5 separate regions of the Homo sapiens genome follow, and regions 1, 3, 4 and 5 are each linked to region 2. The links are contacts of gene promoters, found by promoter capture Hi-C in blood cells and fetal thymus (Javierre and others, 2016). All regions are on one chromosome and are shown on one strand. Each heading gives the region's core, a stretch centred on a gene start or on the middle of the fragment in contact. The rest is flanking DNA. Distances are from core to core; before and after follow the strand shown. Region 1 overlaps CDC42 (cell division cycle 42). Region 2 holds the start of USP48 (ubiquitin specific peptidase 48). Region 3 overlaps CDC42 (cell division cycle 42). Region 4 has its middle 33 kb from the start of WNT4. Region 5 holds the start of ECE1-AS1 (ECE1 antisense RNA 1).

What was found. The method cuts DNA at HindIII sites, captures the fragments that hold promoters and counts their contacts. A CHiCAGO score of 5 or more calls a contact.
Region 1: a fragment that was not itself captured here is called in contact with the fragment with the promoter of USP48 in region 2 in 7 of 17 cell types (non-activated CD4 T cells, activated CD4 T cells, naive CD4 T cells and 4 more); the score reaches 7.2 in non-activated CD4 T cells.
Region 3: a contact is called between a fragment that was not itself captured here and the fragment with the promoter of USP48 in region 2, in 3 of 17 cell types (total CD4 T cells, naive CD4 T cells and monocytes). The highest score is 5.7, in total CD4 T cells.
Region 4: a contact is called between a fragment that was not itself captured here and the fragment with the promoter of USP48 in region 2, in 4 of 17 cell types (naive CD8 T cells, non-activated CD4 T cells, activated CD4 T cells and 1 more). The highest score is 6.1, in naive CD8 T cells.
Region 5: the fragment with the promoter of ECE1-AS1 here is called in contact with the fragment with the promoter of USP48 in region 2 in 9 of 17 cell types (total B cells, neutrophils, fetal thymus and 6 more); the score reaches 12.1 in total B cells.

The regions. Positions count from the first base shown.
Region 1 is chr1:22,092,021-22,094,720 of GRCh38, forward strand. CDC42 (cell division cycle 42) reads left to right here. Exons shown (of 6, transcript NM_001791.4): 6 at 1-2,700. Among named protein-coding and RNA genes, the nearest start is that of CDC42, 41 kb to the left of the region's middle. The HindIII fragment of the contact is 622 bases long and covers 1,040-1,661 here.
Region 2 is chr1:21,781,785-21,784,484 of GRCh38, forward strand. It overlaps USP48 (ubiquitin specific peptidase 48), which reads right to left and starts at 1,365. Exons shown (of 27, transcript NM_032236.8): 1 at 1,040-1,365. The coding sequence starts at 1,173. RefSeq lists enhancers at 49-98, 411-1,182, 659-758, 1,183-1,953, 1,699-1,748 and a silencer at 1,129-1,488. The HindIII fragment of the contact is 2,827 bases long and covers 25-2,700 here.
Region 3 is chr1:22,071,180-22,073,879 of GRCh38, forward strand. The region is part of intron 1 of CDC42 (cell division cycle 42); the gene reads left to right. Among named protein-coding and RNA genes, the nearest start is that of CDC42, 20 kb to the left of the region's middle. The HindIII fragment of the contact is 6,953 bases long and covers 1-2,700 here.
Region 4 is chr1:22,108,662-22,111,361 of GRCh38, forward strand. No RefSeq gene overlaps it. Among named protein-coding and RNA genes, the nearest start is that of WNT4, 33 kb to the right of the region's middle. The HindIII fragment of the contact is 3,822 bases long and covers 1-2,700 here.
Region 5 is chr1:21,292,026-21,294,725 of GRCh38, forward strand. It overlaps ECE1-AS1 (ECE1 antisense RNA 1), which reads left to right and starts at 1,265. Exons shown (of 3, transcript NR_038404.1): 1 at 1,265-1,718; 2 at 1,909-2,185. It also overlaps a transcript of ECE1 not described here. RefSeq lists enhancers at 1,212-1,301, 2,143-2,700, 2,682-2,700. The HindIII fragment of the contact is 8,029 bases long and covers 1,099-2,700 here.

The sequences.
Region 1 (2,700 bases), core at 101-2,600, 310 kb after region 2:
CCCTTAAGGGGAGGAGGACGGATTGATTCCACATTCCACTTCCTAGATCTAGTTTAGAAAACATGTTCCCCATCTGGTGCTCTTAGGAAGGAGTATAGTAAATGCCTCATTTAATAACATACTCCTTTTTGAAAGTTGCCTTTTCTCTCCACCCTTGAGTAGATCCAGTATTTGATGAAACTCATGAAAGTGGGTGGAGCCCATCTTGCCCCTCCTCTTTTCTAGGACGCACTATATGTGACTGTGACTTTCAAGGACATTTGTTTGCCATTTGCTGATTTTTTTGGGAAGTTAATTTCTAACTTCTTTCACTGATAAATGAAGAAAAGTATTGCACCTTTGAAATGCACCAAATGAATTGAGTTTGTAATTAAAAAAATTTTTTTCCCTTTCAGTCATTGTCTTATATGCTTAGCATAGATTTGCAGCTCAGTAGTATATGGTGTTCCTAGAATGCAGCTGAAGACCTGTTATGTAGAGGAAATACGAGGGGTGGTGCTAGAAGACAGACATCTGTGGAATGATTCACATCCTCTCAAGTTAGGAGGATGGAGGCCTGCTTCATTAAGAAGCTGGGGGTAGGGTGGGGGTGGGGAGAACACTTAACAACATGGGGACCAGTCAGGGGAATCCCCTTATTTCTGTTTTGCATATGAGGAACCCTAGAGCAGCCAGGTGAGGCTCTCTAGTTTAATAAAAATCATGGAAAGACTCTTAATGCAGACTCTTCTTAAGTGTTAATAGGGATTTTTTCAGCTTATTTTGGTTGCAGTTTCCAATTTTTAAAAATGTTGAGGTAATCTTTCCCACCTTCCCAAACCTAATTCTTGTAGATGCATTAGTGTTGAACCAATGCTTTCTCATGTCTCAATTCTTTGTATATGCATTCTTTTCAGATGTATTAAACAAACAAAAACCCTTCACAAGCCAGCCTGAGGGTTGTTATTTTCCCTCCGTCTCTTACTTTTCAGATATTGAGGAGTGGGAATTTGACTCTTGATAACATCAATTTCTAACAAACTTTGGGATAAAATTTTAAAGCTTTATTATTTTTATTTTCTGGCATTTTAGTTTGAGATAATATTTAGCCCTCTATATGTTCAGGTTTGTGCTTTCTCCTCTAAGTTTGACCCTTCCCTTAAATACCAAGTAGGTCCATAATAATTCTTAGTGAAGCAGTGTTCAGGAAGCTCACTGCTCATGGTGGAAGGAAATGTCAGTGTACCTTTAATCCATAGATCATTGAAAAGCAGCTCATTTTCCCCCAAGTTTTCTGCATCAGTGGTTCTCCAACTGGAGTGCAGCTTGAACAATGTGATTTTTAAGTTTTCCAGGCATTTCTAAAATGTAGCCAAGTTTGGGAATCACCACACCTAGTTGGTTATCTCAAACTACTACTATCAGAATACAGGTTCTGTGCTGCGAATCTGAATATGGGATACATTTTCTTTAGGTAGCAAGAAAGGTTTATTTACCTTTAGGACATTATACTGATCTGCATGAGAATCTTAGAAACTAAGAACCCTTAAAATCAGTTAAGGTTGGTACACTGTGGCCTCATTTTGATAGTTCTCTGCATGGAGTCATGTTTGGCATGATTTGCATACTGTGCTAGAATTAAGCTGGGTTGGTTGAGAAGGGGTTAGGAAGAGGCAGATGTAAGCTTTAACAGTTCTAACCAAGAAATGCATCTTATTTATTCCTTGTTGACTATACTAGGGAGAGATACCTGGATCATGTGATACCCTGGAAAGCAGGGACATATGTATCCTTAGTGTAGTCAGGGGCGTATAGGTCCTTGACTATTGCTATATCTTTGTCCTAAAGCAATGCTTGACATGATATGGCTCTAGAAGTAGTCATTGGATGGGTATATTATTTTATAAATGAGTAAGTGAAATAAAGCAGGTCATACAGTTGTGTCAACGAATTATCCGTGTATCAGAAGAACAAGGATGATGGGGATTGATTGAAGCTAATGTTTTCTTAAATATTTTCAGATTGATTTCTGCATGTCAGAAGAACTTGGGTAGCAAGTGGATGCAGCTTAGGTTTTCCATTTAAATATTGTTTTCTATTTGACGTAACAAACTTGCTTATAGTCGTGGCTTAGAAGGTGAGTGATATTCTCCAGGGAGTATGATTTAGAGGCTGGAAAGGGTTATTGAAAATAGTCCTTACAGGCTTAGTTTGTGTCAGAATTTATAGTATTTAATACGATGTTAATATATTATTGCTATTTATAAGTGTTTTACTGAACATCCTAGAAATAGATTTTTTTTTTTTTTTTTTTTTGAGACGGAGTCTCGCTCTGTCGCCCAGGCTGGAGTGCAGTGGCGCGATCTCGGCTCACTGCAAGCTCCGCCTCCCGGGTTCACGCCATTCTCCTGCCTCAGCCTCCCGAGTAGCTGGGACTACCGGCGCCCGCTACCACGCCCGGCTAATTTTTTGTATTTTTAGTAGAGACGGGGTTTCACCGTGTTAGCCAGAATGGTCTCGATCTCCTGACCTCGTGATCCGCCCGCCTCGGCCTCCCAAAGTGCTGGGATTACAGGCGTGAGCCACCGCGCCCGGCCAGAAATAGATTTTATAGTTAAAGCGATGTTCTTCAAGCTGGACTTTATGCCACAAGGGGAGTGTATTCTAAAGGGGAAGAAAAGGATTGTGGTTTAAAAGAACAATTGTAATATTTCCTTCATT
Region 2 (2,700 bases), core at 115-2,614:
TAATTACGTTGAGAAACTGACTGAAGCTTGATTATTTCTATTATACACAGACTTCAAACATTCCAGAACTTACTGTTAAAGTCAGATTTACCCTCCTTGTGAGACAGACGCCCAGAGCTTGGACTTATTCGTTTGCTTTATAGAAACTCCCTAACTTATTTCACTTCTCATACTAGACTTTAAGCTCCAAAGCCAGAGACCATGACTTCCATTCCTTCCGGATCCCCCAGCGGAATGTAAAAACTCCAGAAAGCATTTCCTAAATGCCTGCCGAAAGACGGCTACTGAGCATGCCCGGCTTGGCCAAGTCAATTTCAACAACATTCTGAAACAAAAACTATAGTTCCCGCGTTACAAGGTGGAAAAAAGGGAATAAACGGGAGCAAAGCCTAAGGATTCAATCTATATGAGGGGGTTAAGGAAAGGTAAAGTTCAAGGGCGGCGCAGACGTGAAGGACAGCACTATCACAGCTTAAACTTGGTACTCGGTAAACTGGTGTCGAACCAGAACGACCAAAGAAAGGCTTAAAAAAAATACTAGATTAACGAGTGAGGGAAGGCCAACGGGGGTGCAGGGTATCGATGACGTAGGCTGACCACAGTTTTTTCTAAAGCTGCCCTCTACAAAAATAATACTAAGATGATCAGGCCTTCGGTGTCAACACCAACAAGATACACTGTGATGAAGCTCACTTCCAAAAAGTTCCTTTTTACAAACGAAAGAGCCGTGCTGTGGCCAAGATACCCCAACCATCAACGCTTGCTAAGCTCTCAGCTCCTGCCTTCATCTCCACCGCCATCTTCTGGATGGGAACCCAAACCTTCCTAAAGTGCTTTGGCCAGCATCACCTCCGCGCACAGCCCGGGAAGCCTGCGTTTCCCAGGTCGCGCAGACGGCGCAAAGGGGGAAACTCCACCTCGCTCGGCTCCGCGCCTCCCAAATGCACGCAAAGGGCTGCCGTCTTCCTTTCCCCTACCCCGCCCGGGCTTTCCAAGGTCCGGCGCGAGGAGCCCGCGAGGCGCGGTGCGCGGGCCTCACCTGCACACGCCGCGAATGCAGGGCTCCAGCCAGATGCGGTAAGCGGTCTCGATGTGCTCCTGCGACACCTCCTCGGGCCGCACCGTCTCCGCCCAGCGCCAGGCCGCCTTCTCCAGCTGCAGCCGCGGGGCCATGGCCTTGGCCCCAGGAACGCCTCCCGAGCCAGACCGCCGCAGCCGCCGCCGCGGTCTGCACCGCCGCCCCAATGGGCTTCGCCACCTGCCAGCAAGGAGGACCTGGCGCTCCTTCAGGCAGCTGGCCAGTCAATCACCTGTGCGCGCCACTGCCGCCGCGCCCGCCCGCGCCCGACCCGCACGACCGGCCGCAAAGCGCCGCCGTCGACACCCGACACACCCCGCGCCCGCGGACGTTAAAGGTGGACTCCCCGCCGCGCTGAGCGCATGCGCGTTCCCAGCAGCCTCTGCGCCTCCCGCGCCCCTAACCCGACGGGCTGAGGTAGAGGAAGCGTACGTCCGAGGCGGTCTTGCCACGTCCTCACTGGCACTTCTGGAAAAGCAGCGTCTCAGCCCCCGTTCAGGGCGGCGCACTACGTACCACTACTCTAACAAACCAGTGCCTCGAAAGCTATTTCTTGCCTCCGGTACTTCCCTTTTAACCATGAAGTTTTCACGCTAGAGGCTACTCAACGCACACACAGGCCCGCCCAGACTGTGGAGCGGGACCTGTTTAGAGTAGAAACCGAGTCGCCAAAGAAACCAGTGTTGGCTCTTTAGAGGGAGATTTAACTTGAGCCTAGACCGGTTCCGAACCCCTTTCCCGAGCCCTCCTGACGTCATGGGACCTTCCGGCCTTTTCCCGTGCTAGGGTGGGACTACGTGTCCCGGCATGCCCTGCGTCCTGCCACTGACTGTGAGGCATGCTGGGATTTGTAGTCTTCGAGGTGGGAGTGCTCAGTGCGCCGCAGACTGTGCGGGCGGGGGTCCGAGGTGCCAGGGTGGAGTTTCTCTGGTGCGCAAGGTCATGTTTGCTGTTGGCTCCCTTCTCAAGACTGTTACCTCTATGCCAGGATTTTCTAGTTCCTCTCTAGCTCCTGGTTTAAAACATTTCCTTTCTGCGACTCCTGCCCCAGGACATAAAGAGTAGCTTTATGAGAATTGTTTTGCAAACTGTAAAGAACTCTACTAAAGTGAGGATATTTAAGAATTTTGAATTTGAATTAGAGCTCTGCCAGAATCTAAGCGCTAACTTCTGACTCAGCTGCTTGCCTGCTGGAAAACCTTAGGCTGAATTCTTTAGATAAACATTCACTGGGCCGAGCACCGTGGCTCAAGGATCCAATCCCAGCACTTTGGGAGGCCGAGGTGGGCGGATCACCTGAGGTCAGGAGTTCGAGGCCAGCCTGACCAAAATGGAGAAACCCCGTCTCTACTAAAAATACAAAATTAGCAAGGCGCGGTCGCGCATGCCTGTAATCCCAGCTAGTCGGGAGGCAGAGGCAGGAGAATCGCTTGAACCCGGGAGGCGGAGGTTGTGGTTAGCCGAGATAACGCCATTGCACTCCAGCCTGGGCAACAAGAGTAAAACTCCGTCTCAAAAAAAACAAAAAAATTCGCTGAAGGCAGAAGAAAGTAAGATGTGGTCCCTGCCCTTGGAAGTGGGTTAGGGAGTGAGCGGTAGAAATACAAAGATCCCCATCCCAG
Region 3 (2,700 bases), core at 97-2,596, 290 kb after region 2:
ACTACAGGCGCCTGCCACCACGCCCGGCTAATTTTTTTGTATTTTTAGTAGCGTCGGGGTTTCACCATGTTAGCCAGGATGGTCTCGATCTCCTGACCTCGTGATCCATCCGCCTCGGCCTCCCAAAGTGCTGGGATTACAGGTGTGAGCCACCGCACCCGGTCGGAACAAGCATTTCTAACAAACATATAAGGCCAGCTGTATGCTTTTTGTTACATGTCTTCTGTGATATAGAAGCAAACAAGAAGTTCTGCAAACAAGACAGTTTGTTAGCACACTTGCATACGTGTGTGAATGCATGGAATACATTGCTGTGGTTTGAGTACTTTTGGTTGCCTAAAAATCACATGCATGGGTAGGTGTTTAAAAAATTGTACGTTAGATATGCTACTATAACTTACAGCAGAAGGTTATATAAGCTGCATTTTCCAAAGTGGCTGGATTTGACAGGAGAGACAAGTAGTTTTGATTTTATTCTGTTTAATCCTACAACCAGACTAGTCCTTCTGTTGAACTGATAAGGAAGATTGTGAAATTGGGTCATTCTCTTGATTCCTGTAGTGCCTCTTCTTTCTTGTATCCTAAGTATGAAAATGGGTTACTTCAGGGGCAAACGTATTTCACATGAAGGCAACTTTACTTTTAGTGTGTTTTGGATTAGAGTGAATGTGGTGTCAGAAAAAGAAAATTCAGTTCTGATACTAACAGTTTAATTCTGATACTCCCACCCCACAGCTTAAGGGCTCAGTCTTGGAAGACTGCCCTCACTTTAGGCAGCAGCTACAAATGCAGTGCCTAGGCTACCTATACCTCTGCCCAGTAGACTACAAATTTTGGGATTCCCATGGCCCTTCTTAGGTTTGATTATTAGCTAGAACAACTCATAGAACTCAGGAAAACGTTTTACTTACCTTTTTTTTTTTTTTTTTTTTTTTTGGGATGGAGTCTCGCTCTGTTGCCCAGGCTGGAGTACAGTGGCGTGATCTCAGCTCACTGCAAGCTCTGCCTCCCAGGTTCATGCCATTCTCCTGCCTCAGCCTCCCGAGTAGCTGGAACTACAGGCGCCTGCCACCACGCCTGGCTAATTTTTTGTATTTTTAGTAGAGTCGGGGTTTCGCCATGTTAGCCAGAATGGTCTCGATCTCCTGACCTCATGATCTGCCCGCCTCGGCCTCCCAAAGTGCTGGGATTACAGGCTTGAACCACCGTGCCTGGCCGTTTTACTTACCTTTATGCCTTTGTCATAAAGGGTACAACTCACGAACAGCCAAATGGAAGAGATACATAGGGCACGGTTGTGGGTGGGGAGGGATTCAGGTGACCTGCTTTCCCCTCACCTTGAAATGTTCACAGACCTGGAAGCTCTCCAAATCTTCTGTTCTGGAGTTTTCATAGAGCTCAGTTTCTAGCCCTCCTCCCCTCTCTGGAGGTTGGTGCATGGGGCTGAAAGTTACATCCCTCTAGTCACTTTGCCTTTCTGGTGACCAGCCCCATCCTGAGGCTTCCTAGCATCCCTTCCACCGCCACCCTGTCACTTTATTAACATAAATTCAGGTGTGAATTTGTTATGAAAAACAAGAGACACTCAGCACTCAGGAAATTCCTAGGGTTTTTAGGAGCTCTCTGCTAGGAAGTGGGGACGGAAACCAAATATTGCCAAATATTTGGTGTATTACCAAAAATTTGACTTGCCTTTTATTCACAGTTACTATTAATACTTGACATAGTTTTAAAAGAGGTGTAATCTTATTGAGAATATAAATTTTTTGTAAAACTTACTAGCAAATATTTAATCTCAAATCTTAAGGTTGCTGTCTCTCTGTGCCTAGAATGAACCATGGGGCACGGGAAAATAGGGCATTTGTAGCTGGGAGTATCCCCTTCCTCCATACAGATCGTTTGCTCAGGGATTGTCTGGTGGAGTTTAGATGGCAGCCAGCCAATCATAATGATACCATAGAGAGGGTTCCATAACCTTTTAAAATCTGTAGTGTGTGGACTTAAAATTTCAGGTGCTATAGCTCTGAGATTCTTAAAGGATATTTGAATTCCCATAGTGTTAAGAACCTGGAAGAGGCCAGGTGCAATGGCTCGTGCCTGTAATCCCAGCACTTTGGGAGGCTGAGGTGGGTGGATCACCTGAGGTCAGGATTTTGAGACCAGCCTGGCCAATGTGGCGAAACCCCGTCTCTACTAAAAAAATACAAAAATTAGCCAGACATGGTGGTGCGTGCCTGTAATCCCAGCTACTTGGGAGGCTGAGGTGGGAGAATCGCTTGAACCCTGGAGGCGGAGGTTGCAGTGAGCCGAGATCACGCCATTGCACTCCAGCCTGGGTGACAGAGCAAAACTCTGTCTCAAAAAAAAAAAAAGAAAAATAAAAAACCTAGAAGATATGGGTATTGGAGGGGTAGATGCCAGGAAGGACAGAAGGAAGATATACCTTATTTCACAATTTTATTTCCTTATGATTGGCAGAATCATTTTAAAAAAAATATTTGAGACAGGGTCTTGCTCTGTCATCCAGCCTGGAGGGCAGTGGCACAATCATAGCCAACTGCAGCCTTGGACTCAAGCAATCCTCCCACCTCAGCCTCCCTGGTAACTGGGACTACAGGTGTGTGCCACTTCACCCAGCTAATTTTTTTTTTTGTAGAGATGGGGTCTCACTCTGTTTCCCAGGCTGGTCCCAAACTCCTG
Region 4 (2,700 bases), core at 34-2,533, 330 kb after region 2:
AGGCTTTGGGCACAGGGCCAGCAGTGCAGGCCTGGCTGTATCCAGGGACCACCTTTCAGACCAGGCCCTGCCTGGCTCAGTTCTCACTTGCAAGCCATGGGCTGCCCTAATTCTAGCCTGTTTCTCTTCCTTTTGACCCGTTTGGGGAGCAGCTGCAGGGAACCACTGAGAAGGCTTGTTTACAGATGCACTTGGCACAGGATGGGGAGACCAGCAGCGATGAGTCCTGAGTTCCAACTTCCAGCTGCTCCCAGGTGCTGAGAAGCCTTCTACTTTGGGCCCCAAAAAAACAAGTCCACACTGTTGTCTTTGGCCGGGGCTTCAGGAACTTGGAGATGAGGAGACTAGAAGACAGTGGGTGAGATAGCTGTCCAGGCCGTCATCTATAACAAAGCCGTGTGGGCTGGCCCTCCAGGGAGGCCTTGCACAGGGACCATGGGTTGTGGACCCAGGCTGAGGCTCTTCTCTGGGGCCCTGAAAGGGGCACTAAGGGGCCTTGAAGTCCAGGGATAGTAATGGGTAGAGATAGTTTAATTGTTCCCTTGACTTCTTTATTCTGGAGAAGGAAGAGTCCAGAGTAACAGTCATAGACCTGTAGCATTTTGGAAAAGGGCTGGAGCCCACTCTTGTGTGGCCGTTCATCAGTGAGTCGGTCTATCTTGCACCTCTCTGATGGTCAGTAGATGGTTATGTTTTCTCCCCTAACATGGATGTCTCAGTTCATTTGATCTTCAGTGCATCCTTCCCACCCTCGATATGAAATAGAAGTTCCAGATCCCACCCAGAGAGTGCTCACAGTTTAGTGGGGGGGTATGCATGTGTAAGCAGTAGTATGTATGACACCATGTGGCTTGTACCTTGGGAAGCACAGGTCTGTCAAAGGAGCATCAGTCCCTTTTTTCTTTAAAGTGTGTCCTCTGCCCAACTGAAGTCTTGGGGAGCCTACTCTTAAACATCTACTGGCTCAGCATTCTCAGGATTGGAAGTGGGGGCAGGAACATTCTCTGATGTTAAAAGCCGTAATAGCTAATGACTGAGCCCTGGCTGTGTGACCAGCCATGTGCTAAGGGTTTTACATGCTGTATCTTCATGATAGCTCTGTGAGACGGCTACTCTTTTCATTCCCAGTTTATAACTGAGGAAACAAGTTAATGACTTGCCCAAGGTTCACAGCCAGTCCATGGTAGAGCTGGGGTTATTTGACTCCACAACTTAAAAAAAAATTATTTTTGAGAATGTTCTGAGCTGTTTTTTCTTGTAACTGAGATCCAGCTGGTGCTATTGGTGGGCTGTTGTGGCTAACTGCCTTACAGAAAATGTAAAAATGTCTAGAATAGAGTTGACATTAAGTCCCTTACATGTCAATAACTAAATTATTAGTTTACTTAAGCTGAAATTAGTCAACTGGCAGTTAAAAGAAAAGTGGTGTTCAGTATTTATTTCTATAGAAAAGTGGTAAGGTGTGGCTGGGCATGATGGCTAACACCTGTTAGGCCATCCTGGCAACATGGTGAAACACTGTCTCTACAGTAAAATTAAAAAAAAAAAATTATAAAGACAGATTCTCACTCTGTCACCCAGGCTGAAGTGTAGTGGTGCAATCATAGCTCACTGTAGCCTTGAACTTTTTTTTTTTTTTTTTTTGAGACGGAGTCTCGCCCTGTTGCCTAGGCTGGAGTGCATTGTTGTGGTCTCAGCTCACTGCAACCTCTGTTTCTCCAGTTCAAGCGATTCTCCTGCCTCAGCCTCCTGAGTAGCTGGGATTATAGGCCTGTGCCACCATGCCTGGCTAATTTTTTTGTATTTTTAGTAGAGACGGGGTTTCACCATGTTGGCCAGGTTGGTCTCAAACTCCAGAGCTCGTGATCCTCCTGCCTCGGCCTCCCAAAGTGCTGGGACTACAGGCATGAGCCACCGTGCCTTGAACTTGAACAAGCCAGCCAGCCTTGAACTTTTGACTCCAGAACTTGTACTACCAGCTCCCCTTGGGGGCAGTAATAGAATAGCTGGTAGACAAATGATGTGTAGAATTTGAAATGCTTATTTTATCAGATGAGAATAATAGAAAAAAAACAACAAAAAGGAAATGCTTATTTTAAAATCACTATTGTGTTGATTTGTTTTTAGTCACAAGATTTATTTTGAAATGACAGATTAGGCCGGGCGTGGTGGCTCACGCCTGTAGTCCCAGCACTTTGGGAGGCCGAGGTGGGCGGATCACAAAGTCAGGAGATCAAGACCATCCTGGCTAGCATGGTGAAACCCTGTCTCTACTAAAAACACACAAAAAAATTAGCCGGGTGTGGTGGCAGGTGCCTGTAGTCCCAGCTACTCGGGAGGCTGAGGCAGGAGAATGGCGTGAACCTGGGAGGCGGAGCTTGCAGTGAGCCGAGATCGGGCCACTGCACTCCAGCCTGGGTAACAGAGTGAGACTCCGTCTCAAAAAAAAAAAACAAAAAGAAATGACAGATTTAACAAGGCAGGGGTTTGTCTCTCAAAGGCAGGGGACATAGGTTAAAGGTTGAGAATCTCTTGCTTGCCAGCAAGTGGCTGCTTCACTGGGTGAGCTGTACAGAGCTGTGACCCTTGAGGGCACAGTGGAGGGGAGTAACCTGCCTTTCCCCTTGCCATACTGGGGGTCCCCCTATTAAACCGAAGCCTGCTGTGGTTGGAAATGGGTACCTGAGCAGCTTGGGGAGC
Region 5 (2,700 bases), core at 15-2,514, 490 kb before region 2:
TGCGCCTGTAGTCCCAGCTACTTGGGAGGCTTAGGTGGGAGAATCGCTTGAAGCCAGGAGGTGGCGGCTACAGTGAGCTGTGATTGCACCACTGCACTCCAGCGTGGACGACACAACAAGATCTTGTCTGAGTAAATAAATAAAATAAAAAAAAATTCTGATATTACCACTCCCTTGCTTAAAAACCCTCCACTGTCCTGGAATGAAATCCAAACCCTTCACCAGGCCCCATGGCCCCTGCCCACTCTGGGCCCTCATCTTGTGCTGCCAGCGCCCCCTCCCCCACCAACCTCCTCACACAACTCCTCAGTTTCTACAAGTTTCTTCTTCCCCCAAGACCTTTGTAGCTGCTGTTGTCTCTATCTGGAACATTTTTTCCTCCTCTCTACTCTTCCCATGGTCAGCTCCAACTTCAGATCTCAGCCTACCAGCTCCTCAAATGTCCCAGGAACCCTAAGCAGTCCCCCAAATTCTCTGTTACAGCATCCTGTTTGTTTTCCTTTACAGTACTTGTTGCAGACTGTTTTGTTTCCATGTCTTTATCATCACTGTCTCTGTCCCTCTCCAGAATCCACAGCTTTACTGGGGCTGGGACCTTGTCTGGCCTGTCCAACAGAGACTCTCCATCACCCGGCACAGAGTAGGTGCTCAACAAACGGTTGTTAAAATCAAAGGGGGGACAAGTAGAGGGGAAGTGCCTTCAAGTTCTCAAGAACTCTCCTGCATCTAACTTCATAATGCCTACAGAAACAGGGAACACATCTAAAGGTCACAGGCCCTGGGGAGGCAGGGTGCATGGGAAAGCTCTGAATTCTGGAGACTTCTGCCTCACTCCCACTGGGTGGAGGAGTTTCCATTACCCATCCCAGAGAGAGAGGGGACTCTGAGGCTGCTTCACTTACTGCTGGGTTGCAGCTGGGCTTTTTCTAGAACAGGACACTTGGTTACACTACGTTACCAGGTGTCGATTGCCAGAGGAAAAGACTTTTGAAAAAGAAGTTCAGTTCACAGAACATCTCCCCGGGGCATGTGGGTGGTGTAAGGGATTCACCCGGCTGGTGTACGGGATTTGTCAGTTCTTTTATACCATCTCTTTTAAGCTTCTCACCCTTCCCTCAGAAGCAGGTATCACTGGTTCCTTTTACAGAGAATGAAACTGAGGCTTGGGGAAGTTAACTCGCCCAGGTGTGGTTAAGCGATGGCTCCTCCTCCTTCTGTCTCATTTCAGAGATTTCCCCCTTCTGGCAAGCTCTCCTGACCACCCTCCAGGGACCCCAGACAGCATTTGGTCCCTGGCTCTGTGTCCCCACACAGCCACCCTACCCCATGCTGCCTTTTACTGAGGCACACAGCATTTTAGACAGGAGAACCCTGATGGCAGAGGCTGGGTCTCACGGGACCCTGTCTCCTTAAGGGCTTAGTCTGGGGCTGGAGCCTCTACAGATGTTTGAGCAAAGGCGGGAGGCAAGGGAGGGAGGCCGGAAGCCACCCCAGGGACTCTGATGTCCACCCTGCGGCAGCCTGTCTGTGGACAGATGATGCAGGAAGCTCACGGAACTCCCAAGCAGAAATCAGCAGAGATGGAGCCTGGTTATTTTTCAGCACACAAAAGCCGAGGGCCCCTTCCTGAGATGCCTGCCTCAGCCCGGTAGTGAAACTGAACCCACCTCAGACGGGAAAGGCTTGGCGGGCTCTGCTTGGTGGGAAGTCCACAGTGGGTGAGTGACATTTCAACAGCTGCCTGGGGCCCTTCGCCCAGGGCCTTCCATTCACTACCCCAATGGCTCCCCACACCCACCTAGAGCCTCAGCCTCACAAGTACCGCTTCCAGCTTACAGAGAGGGGGAGGGGCCTAGACAGACCAAAAACCAACCATGCCACTTGACAAATTCTCTCCTAACCCCACAGTGCCTCGTCCCTGAGATGAGAATCATCACCTCCGCTTTACAAATGAGATGACCAAGGGTCAGAGAGGAGAAAGGACCTCCCCCCAGCCCTGAGTCACCTGCCTGGAGACTGAGGGAGCCATAATGCGAATCTTCCCCTTGCCAAACCCACTGACTCCATTACGCTGCCTCCAGAGAACCCGAGCCCCGCGGCGAGAAAGTGGTAGAGCTGGGCCTCGAACCTGGGTCCTGGACTCTTGGTCCTGTGCTCCTTGTGGAAGATGGAACTGCTTCTTCAGGTGGGAACCTCACAGAGTCTGGGTGCCCTGGGCAGACTGAGGCTCTGGGCTGACAGGGCAGCCAGCACTTATTCTCCCTAATTGTCTCATTTGCAGTTGTGGGTGCCACGCCTGGCCCCGAGTGTGTTGGGGAAGGTAAAGAACCTCCACTTTGGTCTTCTCAGTTCCCTTCCTGGCACTGTGCAGCCGTGGAGGAGAAATCTGGGTTGAATCTGGGTCTAGTGTTCAAGAGGAGGGCCTGGCAGAAACCAAGAGTGAAGGGGTGGAACCACAGCTCCCTGTGGACTGCCCCGTCCTCAGTCCCCGGTGCCCCAGCTGCACAGAGGAAGTGATGACAGCCAGATGAAGGTGCAACAGTGCCCAGCTCTGGAAACTCCACCCTTGTAAATCAAAGGCCTGTGGTGAGCAGAAACGAGAAATATAAACACGCACAGGTTTCTGGCGACAAAAGCCTCCTGGCCTGGTAGCACCTGGGCATGACCCCCTTTGCCCAGACGACATTAGTCACTCATATG